Linked DNA regions of Homo sapiens: regions 2, 3, 4 and 5 are each linked to region 1. The links are contacts of gene promoters, found by promoter capture Hi-C in blood cells and fetal thymus (Javierre and others, 2016). All regions are on one chromosome and are shown on one strand. Each heading gives the region's core, a stretch centred on a gene start or on the middle of the fragment in contact. The rest is flanking DNA. Distances are from core to core; before and after follow the strand shown.

Region 1 (6,172 bases), core at 739-3,238:
TTCTGCCTCAAATCCCTGATGACCACGGCAGGCCCCAGATAAAGGAACCAACTTCTGTGTGAGAACAGAAAAGATGCCAAAGAAGTTGCAGGCTTTATCCTTAACATGCACTGGCAAAACTCAGGAAGATGCAGGAAGCCACACAGAAGTTAGCTGGTTATGGAAGAGATGGCCAGGTTCTGGTCTATTCCCAACTCCTGCTCTACTCCTTACCTAATCGACTTCCCTAAAATAGAAAAATTAAATCCTTGTTTACTATGGATCAAACTGGAGTTGGAGAAATTTGGAGTTGGCAGAGCTAGCAATCGAGAGAAAATTCAAACTGAGCAAACTGGATATAGAAATCAGCGAAGCTTCATCTCCAATCTCCACAAACGTCATTCACGCAATTCTGTGTCTGCCCAGGAAGGGCATCGATCTGCCACCAAAATGATGCATCCGCCCCTGTGTTAAGGGGCCCGGCACTCTGCCCCGACAATCCCCCACAGGGCCCAGACAACCACTTCCAAGGCCCATCTTCTTGCACTGTTCCAACAAACACAAGTCACACCCACCCACAAACAAGCCCGTTTCAAGAAAACAAATGCCGGCGGCAACGCAAGGAGCTGCTAAAAGTTTCCAGCTGCCCTGCAGAGCTCGCTCCTGCTCAAACGTCGCTCCACTCCCGCACCATCCAGGTGAATCGGGTTGTAGTGCGTTTCCAAATACAGCAGGACCGGCGCTGGCTGTGAAAAAGTTAATCGAAAACTTCATCTTCCTCACACCCAGAGGCCTATTCTCTAAAGACGTTCTGCCACGGGAAGATTCGTTTTGGGCTGATGGCTTTGCTTACTTAGAACCCCCAAACGTCACAGGAATTTGCACCAATACTAAATTAGCGAGGGTTCCCATCATGCCCCCCAAGCCTTCCTAAAAGGCGGCCAAACTTCAGGATACCGGCTTGGAGGTGGGGGGCGCAGGAGAGGATGCCGAAGTCCTTCCCTCCTGGAGTTCAGCCAACTCAAAGGGTTAGCAGGGGCATCTCCCACCCTGAGCGCAGACTGGATGAGGAAGCCCCCACCTCAATTCCCCTGCGCCCCTCCAAAACATGGAAGGAGAGGGAGGCCGGGGGAGGGATACGGGGGAGGGATGCGGGGGAGGGGGGAGAGTGTAATTTCCCAGTTGACAGAAAGCAGGTAAATTGGGAGAGAGCGGGGTGAAAAGAGTGACAGGGCGACATCACTCTGCGGAAATTTCCCAGGAGGAAGGGGACAGCGATGGGGACAGGATCTTGGGTGGCGGGGAGGGGTCTGGGAGTTGCAGCCCCTCCAGGACCTTCTCTTCTCCCCTGTCCAACTCCCTCCCGCCGGCCCCACCTCTTGATTCCGCGGACCCAGCAGGGTCGGCCGCTCTGCCTCAGCCCTGCCGACTAAGAGGCGCCCGGCCCGGGGCCCGCAGCTGCCTGCGCCCCCGCCATCCTCCCCCGGCCCGCGGTCGTCCCGCACTCACCAGGAGCACGGAGCCGCGCACCACCTCAGACACGCTCTGCCGCAGCTCGGCCGCCGTGCCCGGCTTACTCAGCGCCCGGGTGAACTTCCGAGTCTCCGCCGAGGCGGGGAGCAGCGGCGGCTGCGACATCCTCCTGCCCCCGCCGCCTCCGCCTCCGCCTGCTCCCGCGGCCCGGCCCGGCCGCGCGGCCGCCAGGTGCGCCCTCGGCGCCCGGCCCGCTCCGCCCGCCGCTCCCGGCGCCGCCGCCGCCTGCTCCCCCCGCTGCTCGCCGCGAGTCCGGCCGCCGCAGCCCAGGCCGCGCCCTCTGCACCGTGTCACGCCCCAAGGCGCCCCCCTCGGCGTCCGCGGCCCCCCGCGATCGCAGCAGCGCCCGGGCTCGCTCCGGGCGACCGTGCGTGTGGCGGCGGCGGCTCCCCCATGCCACCAGCCTCCCTCGGCGACCACTCGCCGGGCCGCCTCCTCGGGGCGGGGTGTCCGGCGCGGCGCGGGCGGGGCGGGGCGCCCGGACGGCGGAGGAGGGGCCGCCGCGGCGGGACGGCGGGCCAGGCAGGTCGGCGCGGCCCGGCGCTGGAGCTAGGCGGCCGGACTGGCAGGGGCGGCGTGCCGCGCGGGACCCTCACTGGGGAAGGTGGGGGGTCGGGGCCGCCTCCGCCCCGGGCCGCACGTCCGAAGACCGGAGGAGGGGACTGCGCACGCCACCAAGAGGGCGCACAGCCGAGGCTGGACGATGCGCGGTTTCGGAGCAGGGTTTCCTGCCCAGGGAGCCCGGCTGCGCTCGAGGGGACCCCGAAGTCACCGGCAGGGTCGGAGCTCGGTGCACCACGCCCCCCCTCTGCGCCCGGGGCCTCTGCGGGGACAGAGGTCTCAGGAAAGTAGCCTTTATTTATGTGGCACCGATCGGAACCCGCGGCCGGCCAGGCGGACCTGGACGGAGCGTCCCTGCTCGGAACCTGGCGCGGGGCGCCGCGCGCTCGTGTGGCGCCTCGGCCTCCCCACCGTTCAGTCCCCGGAGGCACGGAGCTCGCGGCGGGACGATGACGGTTGGGCCGGGCCAGGCGTGGGAGACTCCCAGACTCCGGCCCGCCGGGACGGCCAGCTGCGTCACCTTGGACGTGGGCAATACTTCGGAGCCTCGGTTATGTCGCCTGTAACCTGAGGACAACGGCCTGGAAGGGGCTCAGGTGACACGGCGGCCCTCACTGGGGCCGATTTAGCCGGTCTGCCGCCCCTCCGCGCCGGACCGCCAGGCGGGGTACCAGGGAAACTGCGATGCGCCGGCTTGCGAGCCCACCGTGACGCAGAGCTGGCGGCCGCTAGCGACAGCCACCCTGTGAGGGACTTTCCCCCCAATACCCTAACCGCTTTCCTGTCCCTAAGGGCCCGCTCCCGCCCCGGCTCCGTTTCTGTCTCTCTGAGGAAGCCCGGCGCAGCCTAACCCTCACAGGGCCGCGGAGAGGGCGCGCCAGGCGGGGATTTGCGCCAGGCCCGCGGCGCATGCTCAGTGGTTGGGGACTGGGCGGGTACCCCGGGCGGGGAGCCTGACTGAACGGCGGCTCTGCTGATTGGTCGGGCTGCTCACGCCACGCCCGTTGCCTTCCGATGGACAGTTCCTTACCTGCCGGGTCGGCCTCCGCAGAGAGTGGTGGTCTTGAAAACCCAGTTTTGGGAGAATACCTGCCGCGCCTCCCGCCCAAATACCCAGAGGTTTCATAGCCGCCATCGCTGCGGTGGAGGAGGCCGCCTGTTGCGTCCCACCCCACCAGAAAGCCTAACACTGGCCTGAAGCGTAATCTTAAAGTGGTAGGGGAAAATACCGATCTAGCGCAGAGAGCAAAACACCTCCGTTCTGGGTTTAATGGGCAGGTCTGGAGGTGAGGTATGCCGTCCGCACTCAATAATTACTTGCAGGATCGGATTGTTTCTCCAGTGGGTGGGGACTGCAGGATGTAGCATTGAGTGAGCCTGGCAGATTGAAAGATAAAACAAGGGTGATGATAAAAACAATTACACACTAACCCATTTCCTCCTCCGTGAAATGAGGGAATGGCCCAGACATTTTCCAGACCTCTTCTGTCCTAAGAGTGGAGCTGGGTGACAGAGCAGGTGCAAGCCGGCCTTTCCCTGCCTCCCCGGGGAACGCACTCTGTTCGGTGAGAGCAACTCAGCTCGCATTGACTCCTTTCAGCTGCAGGAGTGTGGCCGTTCAGTTCTCATTTGAACTGTTGACAACAGTTGTCTTCTGAGAATCATGAGTTAGAGCCTCCCTTTAGGCTTCTGACTCCCTCAAAAGTACCAGACAACACAAACTTTTCCCCTCTTGTTACCTTGGCTCTCTAAGCTGTATCTACTTCTATACAAGGCGAACAATTTTGTCTTTTTAAATTAAAAACAACAACAAAAGCACCTAAGGTTGTAGGGTTTTATATTCTTTTTTCTTTTCTTTTTTTAAGAGCTATATGATTACAGTAGAGTGTGTGTGTGTGTGTGTGTGTGTGTGTGTGTGTGTAGTCTAAAGAACAAAATTTCAACAAATGGTTTTAAAGATCTAATTGGCTTCTATTAGCAATGCATGAACCAGGCAGCATTCTGACTACAAAATAGACGGGAGCTCTTGTGGGAATGGAAGAACAGCTGGGTTTTGTTAAGGTAACTTAAGCAGGAACAAGGGAAAAGCATAGTGCCGAAAGCACATCGGGTAACTTCAGGTTACTCTCCTTTATGGGTTAAAGCAGAGGGGGCTGCCTTAGCTGGCTCAGGCTGACTGGGCCCCGTTTGACTGGTTGCTGTGAATCTCCTGGTTTTTGGAAAACTGGCCCTTTTGGGGATTTTCCTGTTTTTTAAAATCTCTGTTTAGTTACGTGGCACCTAACACAGTGGCTTCATTTTAGTCTGGTCTGTTGGGGCCTAGTTCAGGAGCTCAGTCCAAGACAATGACCTACCATAAATTTTATTTAAATATATGTATATCTGGAAAGTGAAGAATTCCCCAAACCTACCAATTTTATCCATATCTCTACCACTCCTAAATTCTGTACTTACTTGCTGATTCAGTATATTCTAGAATTGGCAGATTTTCATTTAGGAAGCAGAGAACAACAGACAATGTGCCAACAGTAGTCACTGGCAATGTCTAACCAAGCACAGGTTCTGACAGACAAGGCGGCATGGAAACGTGAACTAAGCCCAGGAAGATGGACCCAGCAACCCAGAGTGGAGCCTCTTCTTCCTGGTGAAGTGCTGTTGATAACAAATGGGACATTCCTAGTGTTAAAGTTTCAGCAGAAACTTGGTCCCTACTGTTCTGGGTTGAATTGTAGTCCCCCAAAAGATATATTGAAGTTCCAAACCCAGTACCTGTGAATGTGGCCTTATTGGAAATAGGTCTTTGCACATGTAACCAACTTAAGGTGAGGTCCTACTGGAATAGGTGGGCCCTAATTCAGTATGAATGGTTGTTTGTTTGTTTGTTTGTTTGTTTGTTTTGACAGAGCCTCACTCTGTTGCCCAGGCTGGAGTGCTGTGGTGCAGTCTCAGCTCACTGCAGCCTCTGCCTCCCAGGAGGCTGGGATTACAGGCACCTGTCACCACACCTGGCTAATTTTTTGTATTTTTAGTAGAGAAGGGGTTTTGCCATGTTGGCCAGGCTGAGGTCAGGTCGAACTCCTGACCTCAGGTGATCCGCCCATCTCAGCCTCCCAAGGTGCTGGGATTACAGGCGTGAGCCACCACGCCCAGCCTGAATGGTGTCTTTATAAGAAGAGACACAAATACATACACAAAGGAAAAATACTATGTGACAACAAAGGTAGGAAGGAGAATACTGCACACCTGCAAGCCACAGAACAGCAAGGATCACTGGGAACCACCAGAAACTGGAAGAGGCAAGGAAGGATTCTTCCCTAAAGTCATCAGAGGGAGCATGGCCTGCTGACACCTTGACTTCAGAATTCTAGCCTCTAGAACAGTGACAGAAGAAATTCTGTTGTTTTAAGTTTGTGGAACTTTTACAGCAGTCCTGGGAAACCAACATGCTGGCCAAAGGCTATTTTTAAAATTTCCACCAGAGTGGGCCTGGAATTGTGTGAATTCTTTTGGCATCACTATTTCCTGGAGAGCAGTCATACCTACAGAGGGGCAGAGCATCAGCCCAAAAGAGGGTGCTACCTGGCTACCTGGGATGAGGCTGACCTCTGGCTGGACTGGGTGGATGGTGTCTCAGGTACGGTAGAAGATACATCCACCTACATTAGCTTGATGGAGTAACCTCATCTTTGTTTTTCCAAACTATAGGAAGAAAGCTTTTCTTTCTGTTGAAAATTATACTAGTAGGTAGTGGAGATGAAATATAATTGCAGCCAGTTCTGAAATTTGCATGTAAATGACTGTACTACACCCAAATTTATAATTCAAGCATTACTCATGTTTAATGATAACCTCTTACTACATCATTTCCTTGTTAAGTTTGCTTTAGGATTTGTATGTGTCTTAATAACATATAATTAGTTTAAAATCTTTTCTGGATATATCTTGAAAGAGTATATCTGTTTTTAGCAAAAATAACAAGTGACCCATAAAAAGGAGGCACTCCTGTGCACTGTCACAGGGAAGTGTGAAAGGGGACTTTCGTTCTTTATTTTATCCTTGCACTGATTGAATTTTATTTATTTATTTATTTTGAGACAGA
Region 2 (6,172 bases), core at 1,038-3,537, 220 kb before region 1:
AGAGTACCCAGTGACTTCAGGAGCAAAAAACCGGATGCCTCCCTGGGATGTTACAGCAATGTCTTAGTTCCAGTGAAAAAATTCACTAATTTATGGCAAGTTTAAAAATTGATCAAATTATATAGGAAATACTTAACAGAACAGCATATGGAAGCAGTTCAGCCATCACTTGCATTCTTTATTTTTTAGAGGAGGAAAATGCAAGAAAGCAAGCGTCATACCCCACACCTACCTACAGGAGTGTCATTTGACTCCACAGTTGGTGAAAGAAAAGCTAATTCATAAGAAAAAAGGAAAAGTGAAACAAATAAAAATAAGCTATAGCAACTGAAATAGATTCCTTTTCTTTAAGCAAAGGGATTTTTCAATGAAATAGCCATACTGGCATGATCTGTAGTCTGATAAGTTTGCTGAAAAGTAAGTTCCCATATTTTACCAATACTTTTTGAAATGGAAATTTCATAAGAAAAAAATTAATTCATCAATGAAAAAAATCAGAAAATTCAAATATCATGTTTGAATCAATTATCTTTTCTTATTGAAAATAAATGTCTCTGTTTGTGAAAAGGTTAATAGAAATAAAGATGGATTACCTTGGTATCTTTGAATCCTGCCTTTTCCAAATGGCATTGGTAAGTTCAACGGAATATAATGTTCATGGTTGCACACTACACGGAGAAATTCAAACTTGTATTCAAAGAGGGTCTGCAGGAAGAAGTGTGTAGTCATAAATACCTCACTGGATATTTTATACAGGATTCTAAAAAACCTATTAGCAATAGTATGCTAGAAATAGTCATTAGCTTCTTGACCTTCTTAGAACTGCACACTCTATTGCACTGTACAGATTTCAGGATGGCTGCAGGGATTGATTTGAAAACTAAGGACACATTTCAATAAACAATGTCTTCAATTGATTTTTAGGGCTCCTCCTACTTCAATGAAGGACTTCAGGTAGCTTATAATTACAGACACAGGCTCAATACAATAAAAAAATTAGTAAGGCAGAGCTTTAAAAAAAAAAAAGGAAAAAGATAATTCTACCAGAGAAAGGCTACATGGTGACTTCTGTTACCAGTAACAACCCCCGCACTACCTTTGGGTCTCCAGGAGCAAAACAGCTAATGTAGTTGTTGATCTGCTTGAAGACAAAGCCCCTGTCCATGAAGGTGAAACATCTCTGTGGAGGAAAACAAGCAAAAAAGTTATTTCAGGTCCAAACATTTCGGAAATTTGGATTCAAAGCAGCATTTATTGCTAATAAGTTTATCCACTGACATAAAAAACATGCCATCAACATTGCCAGAGCACCTACTCTATTCTAGTCACCCTGCTAGACAGCTGGTAAAAAGCACATCTTTGTCCCATAACTGATATCCTCTTCCCTGGAGGTCCCCACCTTGATGAAGACAGCAAGGCTATGATTCGCGTTCTTAGATGCCTCTGGATTATCTCGAAACTTCTGAGTGATGTGTGGCATCAGCATATTTACAACGGTTTCCACTGCATGATGATAGGATGCAGGAAATCTCTGGTTTCGCAGCAACTAAAAAGAATTCAGAGCAAACATTTATTATTTATTAAGTTGCAATCATTTGGGAGGAAAAAATATCTCATCCCTGAGTCCATCTTAAAAAACCCAGAGTTTCTAGCTGGGTGCTGTGGCTCACACTTGTAACCCCAGCACTTTGGGAAGCCAAGTTGGGAGGATCACTTGAGCCCAGGGGTTTAAGACCAGCCCAGGCAACATAGCAAGATTCCATCTGTACAATAATTAGGTGGGTGTGGTGGTATGCACCTGTAGTCCCAGTTACTCAGGAGGCTGAGGTGGTAGGATTGCTGGAGCCCAGCAGTCTGAGGCTGCAGTGAGCCAAGATCAGCCACTGTACTCCAGCCAGGGTGACAAAGCAAGGCCCAGTCTCAAAAAACCCCATAAAACCTCAGAGTCCTAGTCTTGTTTATCTGAAATTGGAAAAAATGAATTAACCCTCCTTCTTTCAAAGTACTGTGAAAGTGTTCAAATACTTCAAATAAGTGCTGTGGATTAAAACTGGAACCTCAAACTTCAGCGTAATAAAGATCACCTAAAAAGTGTTTGTAAAAAGGTGGAGCTTCTGCATCCATTCCCAAAGATTCTGATTCAGGAGCCTGGCAGCGGGTGCAGGGAGAAGGGGCAAGAACCTGCATTTTTACTGAGCATCTTTGATGATTCTGATGCCTGTACCTCTCAGAGATCTCTTTAGAAAGCACTGGCTTACATTTAAGCTCCAAATATTCAAACTGAAAATACGGATTTTGATGACCGTGCATGATTAGTTAAAACTGCTTGGCAGCAGTCTTCTCACAATCAACTTTACACAGTAATCTTTCCCCAACAGGAACCTACAAAATTACACTCAGATTACTTAGCAATTAGCTAACACTTATGTATATCTTCTACATGTCAGACACTGCACTACATATTTGTATGTACTTTTTCATTCAATTCTTGTAATACCCCTATAAGTTTAATCCTCATTTGTTAAAGGGTCAGAGAGGTTAGGTACATGTGTCCTCAGTCACACAACTAACAACAACGATTCAGACCCAGGTCTACCACAGAATCCAAAACTTGGGCATTTTCTGTTACATGAAGCTGCACTTCCCCTGTGTCTATAAACAGAATAATTTACTGAGAGCCTGAAGTAGGAAGGATGCTCCATTACATTGATCCATTCATGCATTTAATTCTAACAGCCACAAGAGGGGGGTATTTTCATCCCCATTTTACAGACAGGAAAACTGAGGCTTAGAGAGCTCACTAAAAAGTACTAACTGACCTTTAATAAAACTGTCCTTGTCTTCCTCCTTTTAGTAACTGAAGAGTAATGGTTTTACAGGGACACATGGCTGCCCAGCCAGACTATATTTTCCAGTCTAACTTACCACTAGGTATGAGCCACATGACCAAATTATGGAAGGGATGCGTGCCTTGTTTAGGCCATGCTCCTAAAAGGAGCCGCTGGCCTCCCTTGTTCCTTCCTGTGCCACTGCCTGGACTGTGCTGTGGCAGTGAGCCAGCTTCTCAGCCACGTGGATGAGGTGAACATCGCAGGCTGGATAACTGGATTGGAGGAGCTTGAGTCACTGAATGATCTTGGGGAACTAGCTGCCCTGTTCTCCAAACTGCCTACCAACTCATGATTGTCCAAGAGAGAAATGAACCTTCTGTCGAATTTAAACCACTATTATTATGGCCTGTTTTTGAGCAGCCAAACCAATGTCCCAATATCAAACAAATAGTATTTTCTAAAACTGGGAACTGCAACCTAGACATTTCTGACATGACAGCAGGCATTATATTATGCATTAAATGCCAGAACCTATTAGGAATATTTGAAATACCAGCTTTATAACAATTTCAATTCTCAAACCAATAACGAGGAAATGTTTATAACCTTACATAGAGTCAAGAATCCAATGAGGAAAGGATCAGTAACAAAAATGTGAAGCTCACCAACTTTAAAAAACAGAATGGCAAAATGTGAAATTCCAAAGGGATTTTGTTGCATATGTGCCACCAATAACTCTATATCCTGAGATGACAGCATCAATAGATGACCAATTTCCAAGACCGCAGGCAAGGCCAACTCTAACCCCCGGCATGACTGCTAACTACCCAAGCTGGCCACTCCTGAAAAAGAGGTATCCCAAGAAATGCTTGTGGCCTTCACAATGGGGCTGAGTCAATGGCTGCTAAAACCAGGAAAAGTAGATGGAGAACTCTATCATGGACAGGTTGAGTGGGCACCATGTAAACCTATTAATCAACATTATTATAACTAAAAGTAGAACAGCTGGGTATATATGCCTCCTGATGTGATGCAATAGTAACAGCTATGAGGTATCCTTGCCAGAAAAAAAATCAAACCTGAATCAAATTAAGTCTCTAGATCCAACCACAAGTTCACAGGGAACACGGGGCAGAGAACCACGTATGTAACACGGTGAGGCTACCATCAGCCAAATCTAAACTGTGGGGAATTCTGCTGGACAAATGACCCACTTTCTTCAACAAATATGTTGCCAAAAAAAAAAAAAAAGTCCAAACAGATGAAAAGAGAACAGTTTAAGAATCAAAGAAACCTCAGAAACACAGCAACTAAATGCAAGGTGTGAACTTTGTTTAGATCCGGAAGCAGACAAACCCAACTATAGGATGACATTTTTGAGACACCTGGGGAAAACTGAATATAGACTGGGTGTTAGATGATAATAAAGACGTTTTGCTAATTTTGTGTGGTGTGATGTTGGTAGTTATATCTTTTTTAAAGGCTTATCTGTTAGAGATGACATGCTAAAAGTGTCTAAGATGGAGTGAGAAAATAGCTGGGAACGGCTTAAAATACTACAAGGTAAAAATGTGAGGGTGGGTATGTATCAAGCAAGGGCAGTAGAACATTGACAAGTGGGGAGGCTAATCCCTCTACTTCTGCACTTATTAGAAAATATAGTAAAATGTTTGTATTAAAAAGAAAGAATACATGGAGAAGAATGATGGATAATTTACATACCAACCCATCATTAGTGCTGTTCAGTGACTAGGCAATGACAACTCATGCCTGTGAAGGCTGAAATGAAGTTCTCCCTGCAGTGGCAAATAGCTGTTGTTAAGAGTCCTAATTGTCAATAAAACAAACTAAAGTCTTTTTACGAGGTATCATACACATTTCAAGGTAATGAAGACCTAAGCAATAGAATGTTTTTATGGAGATTACTATAAACTGAAACAGAAGAGGAAAATCTAAGATGATGCTCAGGTAGTGAGTACCTGATAGAGGCTTGGAGAAGAGGACGCTGAGACACTAAGGGACTTCTCAGCCAAACCAACCTCAACTCCCTGCCACGTCCTGCTGGAGGATCTCTTGCCGTGTGCTGCGCTGCACTGCAGCATCCCTTTCTGTCCTGGCACCACCTGACAGGTGCTGCCTGTGTGGGGTCAGCCAGCCCAGCACCTGTCCTCACAAGATCAGCCTCTCTAGCCACATGCGGGATGCCATGCCCCCATCCTCTGCGAGCCACACTTATGTGCTGCCCGCTGGCTGCTCAGCGCCTACCAACTGACTCCTCGAATGAACGGGATCTCCCTGAAGACCCACACTCAGCCTGGCTGTGGAGGCCCCTGTGGACGCTGCGGTTAACAGCCAGGTCTTCGTAGAGACCCAGGATGGGCTACTCCCCGCCCTACAGGTCATCTGCTCTCCCACAGCTGTGCTGCCCAATCATTGCTTCATGGGTGAGGACTTCGGAATGGTCTTCAAATGTTCACTTCTTTGTTCTGCACTGTGTTCTTCCACTCTCTGGTGTGGTTTAGAGGCCTCTTCTCTATGGGCTATTTTACTGCTTTCCGACGTAAATAAGACTTTTAATTAAGAAACTTTCTCTTTGTGGCTTAGCAAACAACAAAAGTAATGGGGCTGAGAAGAAATTTACCAATGACATTTCCCTGCATTCTGGTTACTCCCCTTTATCAAGATCCCTATGTTATTTCCTCTTTCTCCTATTTTCTTCTACAACTTGGTTTTGTTTTTGTTTTTGTTTTTTGTTTTTTTTTGAGACAAGGTCTCACTCTGTCGCCCAGGCTGGAGTGCACTGGCACAATCACAGCTCACTGTAGCCTCATCCTCCAGGGCTCAAGCAATCGTCTCACCTCAGTCTCCTGAGTAGCCGGGATAACAGGCATGTGTCACCATGCCCAGCTAATTTTGTTCACATTTGCAGAGATGACGTCTCACTATGTTGCTCAGGCTGGTCTGGAATTCCTGGGCTCAAGCGATTCTCCTACCTAGGCCTCCAAAGTGCTGGGATTACAGATGTGAACCATTGCGCCCAGCCTACAAACTCCATTCTTCCTACCTCTTCATCATTTTCATTCCCAAAGATCAGTCTTCTCTCTATAATCTGCATGTTTACCTCACTCTCTGCCCTGCTGACACAATGAGAATGGCACCTCACATCTTCAGTTGCAGGGAACATAATTAACTCCTGGCCCCACCACTATGCTGTGGAATCTACAGCTGCATTTGTACCAAGGCCACCCGTGCCTCCATGCCTCACATGGCTGCTCCCTGCCAGTGACTGAGGGTGGAAAGGAAGCTGCAGCAGGCTTGTTGCTGGGGGATGTGGGACTCCA
Region 3 (6,172 bases), core at 1,359-3,858, 180 kb after region 1:
GATAGCTGTGCAGGAGCCCAGCATGTGCCACTAACTGACCAGGTTGTCTTAACCATGTTAGCTCATTTCTCTGATGGTCACTCTCCCCAGGGGCAGTTGGGTGAGGCCTTCTGTGAGGGGTCATCCACTTCCGGCCTTGTGTGATTTGAAGGCATTCCTCTCCCCAACTCTTTGCATTGCAGAGAGTATTTTACCTTTGGTCTTCCTCTGAATTTCTGTAGGACTGTGGATAGGAGCCGGCAGGATAGGAGCTTGGAGGCTGCATGGAAGCCTGAATGCGTCCAGGATGCATTTCCTAAGTCCTCATCCCAGGGAGGAAAACCAAGAATGTGTCTGCTGAAGTTTGGGCCTACTCTAAATGCAAAGCACTCAGTCCCCTGATGGGGTCACATTAGTTCCTGATCTTTGCCATCGCTGTTTTTTTTTTTTTTTTTAATTGTTCTTCAGTGTGTATGTTTTTTACCATATTTTAAATTTATTTTTAAGTCGACCTCTTGGAGACATTATAATCAACCTTTAGAGGAAGACGTGTTGTTTTTTTCTTGGTAATAAAACTGCATTGATTTTGGTTACTCAGACAAGGTATTTACCAGAACTCTCCCTTGTATGCTTATAAAATAAAACTAGTACTCCATTCAGTTGAATATTTGCAGCAATGTTATCTTCTTATTGCTAATACCATTTGTATGGGTAGACTTTATGAGAAGTTTATGACTTTCAGCTCATACAGCTTCTTGCGCTCAGCAAGCCACAGTCTAAAGAGAGTCTTAACTGAGAAGGGAAGGAAGGAGGCAGGCAGGACCACCCTGAGACCCACAGGCCAGCTGCCGCTGTGCTTCTTTGGAAAAAAGGTTCTCAGACTGTGTTGGCTTACATCTTTCTGCCTCTGGTGTAGGATTTGCTCTTCTAACATGAATGGAACATTTGATTTAGGATCAGTAATTACAGGTTTTAGAACTGGAGTTTGAAGTATCTGTGACACATCTCTCTTTGACAGTCATGTGGGTACTGATCCCTGATTGCACTTTCACCCCTTTTCTTCTTCTTGTTCTCGTTTTGTGTGTGCCTTGTGAACAAGGACCTGGCACGTGCGTCTTCAAACGTTTCAGCGCATCTAGAGTAGTGCTTCACCCAGCAGGCCCTCAGTTAACAGGCATATGGATTCGACTGGTGTTTGTGTTTTTCTGTAAGAAAGGTTATGCCATGTCTCAAAAAATGAATGGCTAATGTTTCTAGGTAGATACAATTACAAAGACGTACCAAATAAAATAATGAGACAAAAAGAAATAGGTAGATTGGGATTGGCTGTGTAGAGGTTTTAAGGTAAAAGTGGGCAAGTTAAAAAGGTTTCGTATCAGAGAAGTTAGTTGCAATTTATTGAATGTAGGAGTACTCACACAGTTTATTTGAATATGAAATAGATCCAGATTTCTTATGTATGGTCTCCGGTTTTCCATACCGATTGATAGTTCAGGGCTGCTTTGACATAAATACTGTGCTTCTACTGCCACCTACAGATGATTAGTGGGTCTTGGAGCTCTTCACCTTTACCCCTTCTAAAGTCTCTTTGAAATTGAAATAATTTTTTTTAAAAGCTATTAATTGGTAGAATATTATAAAATATTTTAATGTTACTTTATGAATATTTCTATATTATATTACATAATACTATATAATATGTAGCTTTATATAATAGATATGAATGTATTCCTCTAAAACAAGGTGGCCAATCTTCTGGCTTCCCTTGGCCACATTGGGAGAACTGTCTTGGGCCACACATAAAATACACTAACACTAATGATAGCTGATGATCAAAAAAAAAATCATGGAAAAAACTCATAATATTTTAAGAAAGTGTACTAATTTGTGTTGGACTGCATTCAAAGCTGTCCTGGGCCCATGTGGCCCATGGGCTGCAGGTTGGACAAGCTTACTCTAAAACATTTTGGCTTGTAGACCATTTCTGCCCTCTTTGGAAGCATCCTCTTTTTTAGGAAACAGTTTTTCTCTGTAGGACTATGTGTATTCCTGGGCTAGGGCCTTGAGAAGATTCCATTTTAACTCTTATTTGTATCTGATATTATACTAAGATATTAAACATAAATGTGGCCTTAGAACAAATTTGACATGTTAAATATATATATATATGTATTAGACAATTTATCGTCTTAACCATGTTTAAATGTGCAGTTCAGTAGTGTTAAGTTCATTCACACTGCTGTGCAGCCAACCTCCAGGACATTTTCATCTTCCCAGACTGAAAGCCTGTACCCATCATACAGCAAATATCTCTTCAGTCCCTACTTTCAGTTCTTTTGGGTTATATCCCTGAAAGTGAAATTGCCGGATCGTGTGGTAATTCTGGTTTTAGTTTGTTGGGGAATGGCTGTATCGTTTTCCCCAGCAGCTGCACCAGCAACACAATGCCCAGTTTCTCCCTATCTTGGCTCGCAGGCACACCTCTCTCACACTCGCCCTTCCCTCCCCTCCCTCCCTTCCTTTCCTGTAGTAGCCATCCTCATGGGCATAAGGTGGTGTCTCATTGTGGTTTCATTTCCATTTCCGATGATGAGTGACTTCAAGAATCTTTTCATGGGCTTCTTGGCCATTTATATATATTTCTTCTTTAGAGAATTGCCTATTCAAGTTCTTTGCCCATTTGTTAATCTTTCTTGGTTGTTGAGCTGTAGGAGCTCTTTATGTAATCTAGATGTTAATCCCTTATCAGATGATTTGCAAATATTTTTTCTCTTACTCCGTAGGGTGCCTCTTTTCTTTGTTGATTGTGTCCTTTGATGCAATTTTTGGAGCATATTTTAGGCTTGCTCATTTATCATATTTTGATGATAAGGATGAATTTCATAGCTTTAGATTTCTAAATGGTGAGGGGAAGGGAGGGGAGGTTATCCTGAGTAAAATCAATGAGTCCTTTTGGAACCTTTCCTCATGACTTAAGCCGAAGCAGTATTTTCCTGCAGTCCTCAGCACCTTTGCCTTGTCCAGGAGGATATAAGTAAGGAAGGAAGAAACTAGCTCTGTTCCAGAGTCTGCTCACTTCAGAGCCTTCCACTTGCTACTGCTGCTTTCTTATGCTCTGAAAGGTATCTGCCTTTATTATTATAGTCATTTGAAATTGAAAGAGTAACATTTATCTTTTTGTAGCATTCTTGGTCCCTGCTGTTCTGATTAATATTTTATCAGTGATAAAAAATACCAAAATATAGTGTGTTTGCTCATCAGATTTGCAAATTACAAAAACTAGGAGGATATTTCAGTAATGGTGGAGGCTAAGCTTCTGTAACAAACCGCTGACACAGTGGCTCAAAGAGCGCAGATGTTCATTTCACTTTTGTAACCACCCTGTGGGGTAGGCAGGCTCTGTACCGGTAAGTCGTCAAGGGCCTGGTCTGGTGGAGCACCTCTGCTTTCCTCAACATGTGCCTTCCAAGGAGGCTCCATGGCTTCTGCTTCCAGCTGGTGTGGAAGAAAGAAGGGGCATGCAGGAGGAGGGATTGCCTTTCCCCAGGTGCCTTCAAGGTTGCAGATGTCACTCCTGCTCCCAAACCATTGGCAAGAACTTGGTCACGTGGCCACACCTAATCACAGGGAGGCTGGGAGATGTAATCTTACCTGGGCAGTTGTGTCCCTGGAGATAAGGGAACAGTGGGTTTTCGGGGAGCTGCTAGCAGTCTTCTCAGAAGAACAATAGCTCTAACACATTAGCTGCCTCAGCAAGCTGGAGTTTTGGGCTTTATAGTCAAAATATGAAACATAGAAGGAGGCCAGGCATGGTGGCTCTCACCTGTAATCTCGGCATTTTGGGAGGCCAAGGCAGGCAGATCGTTTGAGTCCTGGAGACCATCCTGGGCAACATAGCAAAACCTTGTGTTTACATAAAATACAAAAAATTAGCCAGGCGTGGTGGCATGTGCCTGTAGTCTCAGCTACCTAGGAGGCTGAGGTGGGAGGATCACCTGAGCCTGGAGGGCCGAGGCTGCAGTGAGCCATGATCCTGTCACTGCACTCCATTCAGCCTGGGCTACAGAGTGAGACTCTGTCTCAAAAAAAAAAAAAAAAAAAAAAAGAAACACAAAAGGTAAAGAAGGTAAGAGAGAGAACATTAGGTCTTTCTCTTGAGTCTTAAAAATCAGCTGTAGAGGCACTGAATGATAGAGTTGTTTGGCTTGTGAAATGGCATCATGGAGTGACTGCCAGTTGACACTAATATGCCCCTAGATGCCATTTGTAGGATTACAGGGAAACAAGGATGTTGCTGGTGGTCCAGGTTGGCATCAGGATGGGGTGGAGATGGAGATTGGCCATGGGAGAAACAGGTGGAGAACAGGCATTGCTTACCCCAGAGAGAAGAAACTGGGGCAGAACTGTCTTCCACTGTTGAAAGGGCTGCCCAGTGAAAGAGGAGTTAAATAAGGGGGGAATGGCCTGTGGTGAATGAAGACCACGGGGACATGCTACGGGATATAGCTTTGGGCTTGGCATAAGGAGTAACTTTGCAGCACTCACTGTCTCAAGATGAGGTGATCTCCCTTGGGAGCTGCTGAATTTGACACTGAGGATACTCAGGCTGTGGCTGGGAGAGTGCGAGGCAGGGGTGTTGCAGGAAGTCCACTCATTGGTAGGTACCACAAATGGAGTGCCTATGAAATCCCTTTAAACCGTGAGCATTCTGTGGTTTAAATGAGCTATATTCTGATTCTGTGCTCTTCTTTATTGTGAGATTCATAAGTAGGCTTAGAGAACTAGAGAAATTAATTGGAGTCCAGCCAAGGGACCGCATTTCCCAGGATGTTCTGTGCAGCCTAGTACTGGTACAGCAGAACTTGTTCCAGGACATAATTCACTGCAATGTAGAGTTATTATTATATTTCTCAAATTCTGTAATACAAAGAGGTTTGATATTTTTTCTATATAATCTAAGTGATTGATTTTTTGCTTTCTTATAAGCAAGGGGTATTTTTAAATTTTGAAGTACGTACTTCCAGAAAGTCTTTATAAATACTTAAAGAGGAATAGAATGAGAAAATCCTGACACCATTAAGGTAAGAGCTAAATAATGAGTTGGTAGGGTGACATATTTGAAACATTTATAAAATAAAATATTCAAAATAAATTACATTTTTCATATTATTACTACGAATTCTTACAGAACTTCAATCTAGACTGTAAGCTTCCATGTTAAAGCTGTTTTCCCCTTTCTGAAATGAGCATGCTCAGCAGTTCAGTAGGCATTGCCTGCAGTAACACTGCACTAGATGGCAGTGTTACATAGAACTTGATAAAAGCTTTAACTCCTCTAAAATAAGTTATTAAATGGGGATCATATGGTGAAACATTTTTGTAATAAATAACAGAATGGTATTATACTTTATACAAACACCTTTAACAGTTTGATACCCTGTGACTATTTCATAAAGGCGTGTGCTGTAGTTAGAATTAAAAACTGGTATTGTGTATGTGTGTTAATTTTTCCTAAACAACACAATAAAGTATTTTAAACACCACTGGTATAGCAATTGTGAAACTCCTATGATGTAAACCTAAGAATGATTTTTAGTTCTGATTATTCATGGGCTCAGCTCAGCACAGTTCCAAATTTTAACTACGTAAGGTGAGGCAACACACTACTTGGCCCTAATAGTAACATTAAAGAAAAAAATAATCATTATCTGAAAATTATTGAGCTAATCAAAGAGAATTGTAAGCAGATATTTTTATCAAGGGCATATGGTAATATTGTTTGCCATTTTGTGTCTCTTTGAAGTCTTATATGAACCACAGACTGTTTTCACTAGAATGCACATGTATGTAAATGTTAATAAGAAAATAATTGGAATTTAGCAGAGGTGAATATTATGGTCACATTTATAGTCATCAGCTTTTGTCTTCCTAAATAATGCTCCTTAGCTAATTCTTGGGCACAGATCAAGTGTTAGATTTTAATTACTACTTTTTACATTTCTATATCAATGTCCAAGATTATAGTGGTATCAACAACAAGTAGAATATTTTCAAAACCCAGAAAGTAAGTAAGTAGGGAACGAGAGTTTGTACTTAGAAACATAGTTAGATAGAAATTGATGGTTGATGGTGTGGACATGCACATGAGTTCTGAAGAAGAATAAAAATAAGGAACAGGAAGCTGAACTGTAAA
Region 4 (6,172 bases), core at 2,037-4,536, 170 kb before region 1:
CACCTCAGCCTCCCAAAGTGCTGGGATTACAGGCATGAGCCACTATGCCCGACCTAAAAAAAACTTCTTAAAGTGAATCACATGTTTAGCTAAATAAGCCTGACACAAAGAGTACATGTATAAGTCCATTCACAGGAAGGTCTAGAAAAGTCAAAACTAATCTACGGTGATGGAGGTCAAAATAAAGAGGGTCTCAGGTACAAGCTAGCCTGAGGGCTGCTTATATCAGTGTACAAATGCGAACTCCAGTGAGCTCTACAATTCATGTTTGAGCATTCTGCTATTGCAAATTATACCTCAATAAAAAGAATAAAAAACTAAATAGAAACAAAACAAAAAGAAGCAGGGGTTGAAATCAAACTGATTTCACCAACTAAAATGGCTTAACCTAACTTGTAACCCATAGTTTAAAAATAGTTCCAAATATTTTAAATGACAAAATATACAATTATACTTATAAAAAAGTATATATACATAAATGTATACATTTATATTAAATATATGTATATCTTAAAAAATCTCCCTAGGTCTTGGGATCAAACAATACTGAATTATATTGGCTGGGTAGTAAGAGAAGGAGGGGACCGTTCCTGTATATCCTCATAGGAAAAAGCATAGATTTTTAATTAATCAACATTAGGCTCAAATAACATGAATCTTCTCCTAGGTATCCATTCCGTTCACCCAGTAAGTGCAGAAGGTTACTTTCTGAATTCTAGATGGCATCACATATATTACCTGCTGCAACAAACTAAAACCCAAATGGGCACAAATATTTTGTTTTGAGAAATTATGAACCCCCAAACATCCAGAAACAAAAAAGCAAATCTCAATGCAAAATATGATACACAGACATTCATAACACAAACACACAAGCCAAAACTCTTCCCAGACTAGGAGGTGGTTTACAATGGTGGCACTAAAATTAGCTTTAATAGGCAGGTGCTAAAAAGATACTGTGGTAGCAGTCAAGTCCTAAAGAAAAACAATGCTCTAAAGCCCTAGCCAGGGAGGGAGATTTTACACTTGAGAACAGCCATGTTGTCTTAAAATAAAGGTCAATGCTGAATGCTGGTCTATTTATAATCCTATATAGATAAACCATGTTTCTATTATAGTGTTTAAGATGTGGGTGTGGAGGGTCGCCATTTCACTCTAGTATCAAAAAAGAATAGAAGGGCAGTAACAGAGTAAGAGTGCAAAGGGCTAGAGAAGACAAAGATATTTCTCTCATTTAAGAAAGAATCATTCAGATACACACAAGGACACAAGTACAAGGACAGTCATTGTAGCTTTGTTTATAATAGAAAAAAATGAAAATAATAGAACAGCTAAAATAAAAAGTCTATATAGTACAAATAAAAGGGGTAAATTTAAAAATTTTTTAAAGTGCAGAATACATATGGTATGTTAGCATTTATAAAACATTTTTAAACATACTAAATCATACTGTATATATCATTATGATAGATTTATTTGTAAAGATATAAAAATGAAAGTAAAACTTTTAATAGTGCTTGTTTCTGATTGGGGTTGTGGGAGAAGAAGAGAATGGGAATAAGGACAGTGTTTAAAAAGAACTTCAACTATAACCGATGTTTTATATCTTTTAAGAATATGGAAGCTAAAAAGGCAACATCATAATAGATATTTAATCTGGGAAGTAGCAGTATGGTTGATTTGCTTTTCTTTGTGCTTTTCAGTAACTTTTAAATTTCTCAAAATTGTAAGACACAGGAATAGCTTATTTTTTTTCCAGTAAGAGTGACCCGAAACAATTTCTGTAACTCAGGCAACCCCCGGGTTTCGTGGCAAGATTACCAGGTCCTTCCTCTTTGGAACCGTGTCTATTACCCTGAGTAAGGGAGAGCACATGTATCAACATAGAAAGTACGATGCTATTATGAGAACATCTGCCTGCATATTTCAGTTATTTCTTCAGTACCTGTGATGCAGTGTTAAGCATTATCAGGGAAAAAAACACTTAAAATAATAATAAAAGGAGAATGCTTTGTAGGGTACTTTTTAGAAGACAGACCTGAAATCATACTGCATGAGTACACGTCACCTCGTAATCAGGTCAGAAAAAGAGAGAGGTAATCACAATGTAATTTTTATGATTTCAACAGATTCCATTCTGGACAAACCAGTGAAATGAGACATACTTCAACAGCATTCAACGAAGAGCAGAAGATATAAGACGATGTTACCTTGGCAAGTTCCGGCAGGTAGCTATCTAAACCGGAACCAGAACCTTCCAATTTGCTTTGTTCATCATCTAAAATGGCAAAACAGATTATCGGAATCACTTGTAATTCATAGCATTTCATTTGAAACAGGAGGAGGAAGGCCGTTTCTCTTAGGTGCCTTCAAATGAACACAGTGGTTCCCCACTCTGGATGCTCCTGGGAAACACTTGGGGTGCTTTGAAAAAATACTGATCCACAGGCTCAGTGATGAAAGTCAAAACACTGAGCAGCTGGTATAGCATGGACACCGTCCAATTAGAACTGACACTAGCTATGAACAACAGCCCACATGGACACGTCCATGAGACCCCCTAAAAGTCAGACCTGCCCAGGCTCCACCCCAGACCAACTAAATCAGAATCTTTTGTGGGACCAGGTAAATGGTATTTTTAAAAAGCTCCCAGGTACTTCTAAGGGGAAGCCAGGGTTGGGAATCACCTAAGGGTTGAAGTAAAACATGAATTGTCAAGAACATAGCCAGATTTTTCTCACCAATTTAATCTGAGGCTCCCATGCATTCTAATTATTACTAATATTTTATAATACAGTAAAATTCTATGCCAGATACTTGAGATTCATTTTCTTATTTACACTTCCCATCTTCCCAGCAATTTTCATGTTTATTCCCATTTTATAGGTGAGTCAACTGAGGCTCAGAAAACATAAGTTGTTTACCCAGGGCTACACAGCTGAAATACAGTATTTATGGCACTCAAACCCAGGTCTCCCTTTCTGCCTCCAAAGCTTTGGTTCTTCCCATTACATGATTTCCATATACGAAATGTCAGGGAAGTAAGTTATAATGTGACAAAACCTTTGCTGACAGGATATTTGTAAAGAGCTCCTATCCGTCCCACCTCTCATGTACTTGTGTAACACAGGTCTCCTTCTTATACCCACCTGGCAAAAATAAAGACACCCACAGAGTGTGTATGTGCCTGGGGGAAGCCAAGCCTATCTACCTTCGTGAGAGTCGCCATTTCGCTTTTCTTGCATTGCAGCTTCAAAGTTGAGCTGGAGGATCTTATTTAGAATTGTGATCCATTCTTCCATTTCCACTTCACTGTCTGCTGCCAAGAGATAACTACTTTTGTCCTGCATCTTGAGCTCAAAAGCAAAACGCCTGACTTTGTTGTTCTGAAATGAAAAAAGGATAAACAGACATACTTTAAAAGAATTAGAACTGCTTTAAAATAATTACTCTCTCTTGTTGGTGAGTGATATCTCATTGGCATTTAGAACCAAGCTATTTTAAATAGCTTGCCCCCTCCTCATGAAAGCCCCCCCCCATGAAATCCCATTACCGTCCACCTTCCCTGCTTCACTTTCTGCAAGCTTTATTTTTCCTTCTGACTCATTACCTGCTTTACATACTCATCTGATTCACTGTGTGTCCCTGCAGTGGAATGAAACCTCCTCAGTGCTCCCATTTTTGTCAGTGCTACACATCCTTAGTCTCTATGGACTCTACAGTGACTTGCACATAGTGGGTATTTGAAAAATATTTGTTGAATAAATGAAATTTCATGTAAAATTTTCATATTTCTTCAGCTCCTATTTTTTTAATGAAGTAGTGTATGGTATTACATTTTTAAAAGCCAACCATTATCTATTACTATGTTTGGCTTACTTATCTGGAACTTTCCCATCCTTTATGAATCCCAAAAGGTATTTGGACTCCCTGTCCGTGGCCTTGCCTCATGCCTCCAGTTTTCATGCCTGCAAGAGGGTGACTGGCTCACAGAACAAGAACAGTAGTCCATGTGCAGTAACAGACGGAAGATGAACATGCACTAGGCCAGGATTTCTCAATCTCGGTACTACTGACACTTGGGCAGCCAATTCTTTGTTGTGAGTGGCTGGTCCATGCATTGTACAATGTTTAGCGAAATTTATGGCCTTAAGCCAATAGATGCCAGTCTTCAGACATTCCAAGATGTCCTCCAGGGAGCAAAATCTCCCCAGGTTGGCCGCAGTAGACAGAGGTTCAGCTCTGAGGATCATGGCACAAGATCCCCTGTAAGGACAGGCTGAGCGATATGAAATCAAACACTCCCACTAACCTGAGCCAGCAGGACAGCCCCCCGCATAGCCACTAAAATCCTACTGGGTTATCCACACTCTCTCTAAGAGTTCCTTGGTGGAGGTCTCAGGGACAGGGCAACCCTCCCAAAAGTCTCTGTGATTCTGCAGCACAGTTCTTAGAAATGCAAAGTCAAGTGCTCCCCTTGGCAAAGCCACACACTCTTGTGCACAGACTGTCTGCTGTGGGCTCAGTAATTGCCACTTTGGATTCCACTTAAACTTCAAGGCAAGAACCAGGGAAGAAGTCAAAGGCTTGAAACAAAATGAATTTTCTCTCCTCCTTTCCCTGCATACTCACAATCATGAAAAGAGAAAGTTAAAAGTGGAGAAAAAAACATTAGGCCTCAATTCTAAATTTCTGTTTCTGAGCCTCAGTTTTCTCATCTGCAAAATAAGTATAATAAATTTCAAGGGTTCTAAAATGCTTCAAAATTTTTTAGTTTAGGCACTTTTTTTAATTCACAGCACCAGTCAACTAATTTTTTTATAATATCCATAAGTAATAATTTTTAAAAACACTTAAATCACAACTTTTGATGCTTAGTTTACAAACAGACACAGATAAAAACAAATTATTTTACTCTTTTGAAGCCTTGGATACACTTTATTAAATGAAAACACCATCAGCTGCATCTGCAAAGACAATTTGAAGGAAGAGACTTCCATTGAAGTCAGAACCTTAGATTTTGAAATGCACCCCGGAGACTAATTGATAGCTCAGGGCAGTTGTACTTATAAACATCTGTCCCTGGGCCAGAAACAGGCAGCAAAACTCTCTTATAAAACAAAAATAATTACTTCCTACTTTAAAAAATGAGGTTGCCAAATACATTTAGTTTTGCTTTAACCTTCTTTTTAAAGTCAGTGCCAGAAAATTCAGCTAAAAAGTAACTTAAAGGTCTTTTGACTAAAGAATACAAATAAAACTCCTACTTGGGAATCCCACCCAAGAAGTCAATTCACTGTCACTGATAAATCACTCTGGCACTCCTTACTTCACAGACATTGTCAATGAACATACTCTGATATAATTAGATTGTTCATAGTGGTGGCCTTCAGAGAAGGCTGAATTGCCAGCTAAGAGACATCCACATTAGCTGTTGACTGAAAACAATTTTCAGTGAGCATTAAGTGGTGCTACAGTCTTGAACGTGGGCCCAAATATACTTTCATGTATTTTACCTTTTTTTTTCTTTTTTTTTTTTTCGGCAGGGCGGGGGTACTGCACAGTGGTATTTTGTTTGTTTGCTTTTTGTATCCTCTCAAATTACCTGTTGGTGTTTTTTATTTATTTTTCAAAGTGGTTTTTAAAGTTAGTTACCAATAACTAAAGTTACCAAAGTTTAACTCAAATTCTGTATTTCTTGCTTTTTGAGAAACCAGATGATCTGGCACCTTTGAGCCGGGGGTTCCACCTGGCGGCACCAGCTGCAGGTGGGCAGGAGATGCCCCCTTTAAATGGGGCACTGGGCTCCAGGTCACCCCGGCATTCCCTATTGCTTTGCAACCAGGCCTCTCTGTCACTTAATTGACCTCCTTGGTCCCTGCAGACATCTGATTCTGGACCCCTCCCTTCCACTGCTGACCATAAGGAAGAAACAGGATCTGGACTTAGCCTCCCACCATCATTGCTAGAAAAGTGGACAAAATACATGAAATAACTGTTTTCAGATAGGGGACAAAAGGCAGTGCAGCCCTTTCTCTGTAGAAGGGAAAGACTGAAGTGAGCCCCAAATTGCCTCAGCTTTCTGCCTGGAGGCAGTATCTGAATTGCAGCACAGGAAGGGGAATCCAAAAAGAGCCCTGCCATCTTGCTGAGTAGAAGACACTGACGAGAC
Region 5 (6,172 bases), core at 1,046-3,545, 140 kb before region 1:
TAATATCCTAAGACATATACACTAATCACATAGATAAAATTGTCCTTCTATGCCTCATTGGTTTGCAAATATGGTCTGCATTTATCCAATTCCACCAATTGTAGAATTTTACCATTCTCTCTGACATATTTAAAATGTCAGCTAAATGTTATTTTAAAAAGAAAAGAAGAATGTGACCTCTCATGGGGAACACAAACATACAATGATGGACTACTGGGTTCATCAATATCCTTCATTCAGGATAAGAGAATAACATCTTACATTTACTTGATGTATACAGGTGGTATTTCATACGTGTGTGCTCTCTTTCTTCTAGTTACATGTGTAGTTAATGTCAACTACCCACTTAATCCTAGGTTTTCCTGAGCACAATATGGAGCAAAAATCACGTCACAGTGTCCACTATATGAGAAAAAAAAAAAAAAAAAAAGCTACTACCCTCAGCAGGCTGAGGAAAAAAAAAATAAAGAAAATGATGAAATACTTTGTAAGCATAAAAATCAACACACTGATCTTGTACCCTAACTGTTTCAGCAGGAGGCATCATGGTTCCGCTGAGTTCTCTGGCTCCTGAGGGCACCATTACACTGTGTTCCATGTGTGTGTCCTGCTCCCGCATAACATGTTCAATCACATCCCCTACAGTCCTATGCCAGGGCACATGGGGACACAGCTGCCCACACACCCTCCCCTGCCTGTAACAGTTCATGGGGATGCAGAGGGATACCCTGGGAACAGCGAGGAAGGCGGGAGAACCCTTTGAGGTGCCAATCAGCTGAACCTCACTTAAGGACAGCGGGGTCATGACCAGATCATCCTCCTAGCCTATCAGGCCTCCACCTTCATTTAGAAAGGCTGGCACAAATACAAAGTTAATTATGCTTCCCCAATATGTTTCTGTGGTTGCTGATTTGGACTCAGGCATAGAAGATATTTTTCAGAAGCAGTTTTCATCTTTAACACTTCCTTCAGTTTAGGAAAATAACACTGAATTTGCACAGTCCAATGCTGATCTTCTTGAAGTTTGGTGAGCTAAGCAAGATGGTTTTAAACAAATTAAAGAACAAATGAATCAGTCAAGGAAACAATGATTCTAAATGTTTGTAAATCACTTCCTTTTCCTACAATATTTCTAATAAGAAAGCTTATAACATACATCTTCCAGGGACCTGGGAATCCAGCTCAAGCTTAAATGCTCAAAATAGCCACTTGAAGAGCTCTACCCTTAACTTCGTATTTCAATTTGATATTATATCTGATTGACGTTTAGTAGGCCTGGTAAGTGGGCTGAATGTACATCTACGATTTTCTGAATTTCTTCCAAATGATTTAATGCTTTGTTACATGCTGATTCTCCTCACCCAAGAGCCGTCTAAAGTCACTCCACCATGGTCCATGTTGTCACTACACCTTCCTCCCGTGAGCTCTCAGACACTGACATGTCCCTTCCCTGAGTGTGCCCTGGTACTCCTCAAACTACCCCACACCAAGTATTTTTGCTCTTTCCTCCTCTGGGCCCTCTAGTGTCTTCTTTTCCCAGTCCAGGGTCCACCTCCAAAGACTCTCCAGCCTTGACTCCCTGGGAGGTCATTTTAGGACCTTGGGTCACTCACTCTCACCTACATCCTGCCACCATCACAGCCATCCATCCTCTGCTTTCTCTTCTCTATTCCCAGGTGACTGACATTTCCAACAAGGCTAATTGTTTTCACTGAAATCTTAAGTGGAAAGACCCCCCTCTTGGTTGATAATTCATTTGTTTAATTCTACAAATATTTATTGAATATCTACCACTTGTTCTACATGCTTAAAAACTAAGATCCCTGCCTCCTGGAGTTTACATAAGAAGCAAGAACATATACCAGTGTGAGAGGCTGTTAAGAGACAGGGAGAGAAAAAAAGAAATCAGAGCAAGGTAGAGAGGACCAGCAAGGCCAAAGAGGGGTGGAGCTGTAGCAGTCAGCAACAGCCTCATTGCAAAGGTCAGATTTGGAAAAAGGTTTGCAGGGGGCAAGAGATAGCCAGGTAAAGAATTTCCAGGGACAGGATAGGTCCCAAGCCTCGCGGGGGAGACAGGAGCCCAAAGAGGCCAGTGTGGCTGCAGACAGACAGCGGATGGTGAGAGAGGCGGGCTGGGAGAAGGCCTGGGAGTAAATGGGAAACAAGATCACAGGGACCCTTGGGCCACTGTAAGGCCTTTGCTGGGGGATTCTGAACACAGGAATGATATCCTCTGACTCACTTTTTAAACAGTCTCTCTAGCTACACTGTTAGGACAGACTGGAAGAGGGCAAGGAGAGAACCCAGAAGACTTGAGAGGAGTCTCTCGCATTAATCCAGGTAAGAGGGACAGACAAAGGCTGTGGCGATGGTTCCAACAGGGGGAGAACAAGCTGGTGAGACTTGACTCCCCCTGCCACTCTCCATGGCCTGCTTTCCAAACCCTTACTCACCCAAGCTCCCCCTGCCCCAGGCCAGCCTGACATTAGCTCCCTCAGCACAATCTGCCGCTACACTTCTCAATACGCAATGCTCTCCTTCCATTTGGAGCTGGCAGTATTTCTCCTTCCTCAACTCCTCCTCTAAAAGACCCTCAATTCCCTCCCCAGAGACCCCATGCGGAACCCTGCTTCAAAACTCAGACCACATTATCCTATATCTTCGATCTCTTCTCCATGCCTGGGTTTCACCCTTCTCAGCTCATTCTTGCTTTCCCAATCCTGGTAAAACCTCCCGCAGACCTTGTCACTGCTCTGAGCCACTCTGATTTCTTCTTTCTGTTTCCAGCTTACTCTAACCTGTGTCTCCCCACTCACTTCTTTACCCCTTCCTGGTCACCAACTCCACAGCCCTTTCCTGGGACCTCCCTAGCCATGGAGAGACTGTCTGCCCTCTCTGCCTGCCTTCTTCCAACTCTTCTTCTCCATTTCCTGGTTCTTATCCTAACTTCTGTCTCTGCTTCCCCTGCTTTTTCCTAAATGAAGGCACTAGCCCAGGCTTCAGTCCGTCATGCTCTCGGCCCCTTTCATGCCTGTCTCACTTTTCTGTGGATGAGTCCAGATCTTCCTTTTTAAACACTTCTCTCAGGGCTGGACTTCTGCGTTTCCAGCCACTTCAAGAGCTGACAGCACTTGAGTGTTCCACTAAACTCTCAAATAATACTGCCACAGTAGATTCCCATGGGACTAGATTTATGTCATGACACTGGTCCTAGTCCCCTGCTTATTAAGACATACCTTTATCTCCTCTCCTAAGTTATGAGCATTTTGAAAGCAAGGATCCTAGCTTATCTTTATGATTCCAAGCACCTCACAAAGCTGAGTCCTTTCACAAGTCGTTTAAGAATAAACATAAGTTAAATAAATATACCCTTAAGCTCAGCTGATCAGTGCTACCTGAAAAGTAAGCTTTTCTTTTTAAGGACTATGTGATGATAATTAAAAAAAAAAATCAATCACTATTTCCTGTAAAAGGCATTACTTGAACTAGAATTAAAATTCTCATATCCTCAAGGTTTAGATGTGTCTATTCAGAATTTTTTTTTTTTTTTTTTTGAGACGGACTTTCACTCTCATTGCTTAGGCTGGGGTTGCAGTGGCACAATCTTGGCTCACTGTAACCTCCGCCTCCCGGGTTCAAGTGTCCTGCCTCATCCTCCCAAGTAGCTGGGATTACAGGCGCCCGCCACTACGCCCAGATAATTTTTGTATTTTTGGTAGAGACAGGGTTTCACCATGTTGGCCAGGCTGGTCTCAAACTCCTGACCTCAGGTAATCTGCCCGCCTCAGCCTCCCAAAGTGCTAGGATTACAGGCGTGAGCCACTGCACCCGGCCCAGAAATATAATTTATCCAGATTTTTCAGTTAGGTCTAAGCCTAGACATGAACTAATATCCCACAAACCACAATGTTCACAGAAAGTTACACTGTTGGCCACTGAATTCTTACTGATGAGAATTTTGAGGAATTTATGAAAAGAACACTTTTCAATAAAAAGCCAAAAACAAAGTATTGAGGGTTTTTTTCTTTTGGCTCTATATAAGAAAAGAGTGAGGACAAAACATCGTGAAAAATAAGTTTTTTTCTTTTCAAAAGGACAGATGGGAAATGAGATCAGGGACTTCCAGGCCTTTGTAAGCAGCAGGCACAGCTTCCTCTCCATGTCAGTGATTTGTAGATCATTATCAGTCTCATGTAAGTAGAAGAGGAAAAGAACCAGAGGAAAAATAAAACTCAGGATGTTATTGAAAGGGAAATAGAGTAACCACATTTTTCTGTACAATGCTGAGAACACTCTAGGATTCTCCTGTATTCAAACATTTCCAAAAAGTAAAATTTCTAGGATTGTCAATTTTGAATAATCTTTGACCTGCACTCCTATCCTTTCTTTTCAATTCTCTTGCTAAGACATTTATATAGGTAATACACCATGAATATCAGTGGGAAAAGCACCTAAGGACTCACTCCTCAACCTGATTTTGCAAACAGTTCTAAGGATGACAACAGTTTCCCACCCATAAATATAGCACAGAAATCCTATAACGAAATCCTATGCTTTTTAAAAATCATTATTTTAAATACATAAAACACAAAATATACCATCTTAACCATTTTTAAGTGTACAGTTCAATGGCATTAAGTACATTCTCATTTTTCAACCATCACCACCATCCATCTCCAAAACTCTTTTCATCTTTCCAACTGCGTCTCTGTTCCCATTGAACAATAACTCCCCATTGCTCCCCACCTCCATCCCTAGTAACCAGCATTCTACTTTCTGCCTCTAATGAATTTGATTCTTTAGGGACCTTACATAGGTGGAATTGAACAGTATTTGTCCTTCTGTCACTGGCTTATCCACTGAGCATAACCTCCTCAGGGTCCATCCATATTGTAACATGGGACAGGAGTTTCTTCCCTTTTCAGGCTGAATAATATTCCATTTTTTGTAAACACCACATTTTCTTTCTCCATTTATCCCTCGATGGACACTTGGGTTGCTTCCCGCTTTCGGCTACTGTAAATAATGCTGATCTCAATAGGGGTGAACAAATCTCTCTTTGAGTCCCTGCTTCCAAGTCTTTGGGGCATATATCCAGAAGTGGTATACAACATGCTTTGAGACAGGGTTTCCCTCTGTCACCCAGGCTGGACCGCAGCAGCACAATCATGGCTCACTGCAGCCTCAACCTGTTGGGCTCAAGTGATCCTCCCACCTCAGCCTCCCAAGTCGCTGGGACCACAGGTTTGCGCCACCATGCCCGGCTAATTTTTTCTTTTTTTCCAGAGACAACTGAGTATTTATTTTTGTACCTTTCTTCCTATGTGTATTTCAAGTCTTCAAAACAAGGCCCCAGGAACCTCCAGACTCAATTATGCCCCTGGGCTTGGTCCACTGTTACAGGAGTCTTACAGAGCCTTGTACATAGCTTGAGTTACTCATTCACAATAATAAACCATAAGACAAAAGATGCAACTAAGCAGAACTCCCTCCTCCATTCCTCCATGGCAGATGCTGATTTCAGATGAGGGGGCAGCCAATGTAGAAAACATTGGAATTTTTCCTTGGAAATGACTGTGATGAGAGGTGTCTGCCATGAACATCACCTACTGTCTTTTCTTCGACCCTTCCTTTCCAGTTTTTGAAGATTAAGCAGGAAATAATCTTATCTGAAGATACTTGATAATAATTCCAAAAAAACCCAAAACACACGCTTCCACTACACTGTGCTTTCAGATATTCTGGGTTGGGTTCAGCTGGTGGATGAGCTGATTGATGTGTTCACCCCAGGTGAGGCCATCTCCTTGAGGAAGCCCACTCTATTCTTGGTAGCATGATGGGCCACCGAGAGGTGGAAAGGGTGCAAGACCCATGAGATCTCCTGGAAATACTTCCCTGGGAAGGCAATTTCATGTATGAGGTCTCCCAGGCAAATGACACCAAACTCCCCCAGGTGCTCCTCAATTGCTGTGCTGTCTGTCAGAGGGATGGTCTCATTCTTGACCTTGGCTTGTTCATGTTTCAAAATGAGTTCTTGGACAGACTTTAGATTGGAAATCCCCAGTTCACATAAGGTTCTACTATAAGCAACATTTTAGGCTCTTTGGGGTGACTTTTACAAAGATACCACTGAAAATTTTCTTCAGGCAAAGTCTTGCAATGGTTCTCTGCA

What was found. Contacts are between HindIII fragments. The CHiCAGO score rates a contact against its expected background, and 5 or more counts as called.
Region 2: a contact is called between a fragment that was not itself captured here and the fragment with the promoter of DOCK9-DT in region 1, in 1 of 17 cell types (naive CD8 T cells). The highest score is 5.2, in naive CD8 T cells.
Region 3: a fragment that was not itself captured here is called in contact with the fragment with the promoter of DOCK9-DT in region 1 in 6 of 17 cell types (total CD8 T cells, activated CD4 T cells, total CD4 T cells and 3 more); the score reaches 8.8 in total CD8 T cells.
Region 4: a fragment that was not itself captured here is called in contact with the fragment with the promoter of DOCK9-DT in region 1 in 3 of 17 cell types (activated CD4 T cells, non-activated CD4 T cells and naive CD4 T cells); the score reaches 6.0 in activated CD4 T cells.
Region 5: a fragment that was not itself captured here is called in contact with the fragment with the promoter of DOCK9-DT in region 1 in 2 of 17 cell types (naive CD8 T cells and endothelial precursors); the score reaches 5.5 in naive CD8 T cells.

What each region holds. Positions count from the first base shown.
Region 1 is chr13:99,084,735-99,090,906 of GRCh38, forward strand. DOCK9-DT (DOCK9 divergent transcript) reads left to right here and starts at 1,989. Exons shown (of 1, transcript NR_047482.1): 1 at 1,989-3,891. It also overlaps a transcript of DOCK9 not described here. RefSeq lists silencers at 1,321-1,800, 1,841-2,150, 2,241-2,300, 2,881-3,110 and enhancers at 1,991-2,552, 3,115-3,674. The HindIII fragment of the contact is 5,433 bases long and covers 352-5,784 here.
Region 2 is chr13:98,866,832-98,873,003 of GRCh38, forward strand. It overlaps DOCK9 (dedicator of cytokinesis 9), which reads right to left. Exons shown (of 53, transcript NM_001366683.2): 28 at 1,400-1,546; 29 at 1,097-1,180; 30 at 594-705. Among named protein-coding and RNA genes, the nearest start is that of DOCK9-AS1, 38 kb to the left of the region's middle. The HindIII fragment of the contact is 8,290 bases long and covers 1-6,172 here.
Region 3 is chr13:99,264,551-99,270,722 of GRCh38, forward strand. All of the region lies in intron 4 of UBAC2 (UBA domain containing 2), which reads left to right. Among named protein-coding and RNA genes, the nearest start is that of GPR18, 9.3 kb to the left of the region's middle. The HindIII fragment of the contact is 1,363 bases long and covers 1,928-3,290 here.
Region 4 is chr13:98,912,118-98,918,289 of GRCh38, forward strand. DOCK9 (dedicator of cytokinesis 9) reads right to left here. Exons shown (of 53, transcript NM_001366683.2): 8 at 3,212-3,386; 9 at 2,211-2,278. Among named protein-coding and RNA genes, the nearest start is that of DOCK9, 63 kb to the right of the region's middle. The HindIII fragment of the contact is 591 bases long and covers 2,992-3,582 here.
Region 5 is chr13:98,943,972-98,950,143 of GRCh38, forward strand. All of the region lies in intron 2 of DOCK9 (dedicator of cytokinesis 9), which reads right to left. It also overlaps the pseudogene RPL7L1P12. Among named protein-coding and RNA genes, the nearest start is that of DOCK9, 31 kb to the right of the region's middle. The HindIII fragment of the contact is 2,220 bases long and covers 1,186-3,405 here.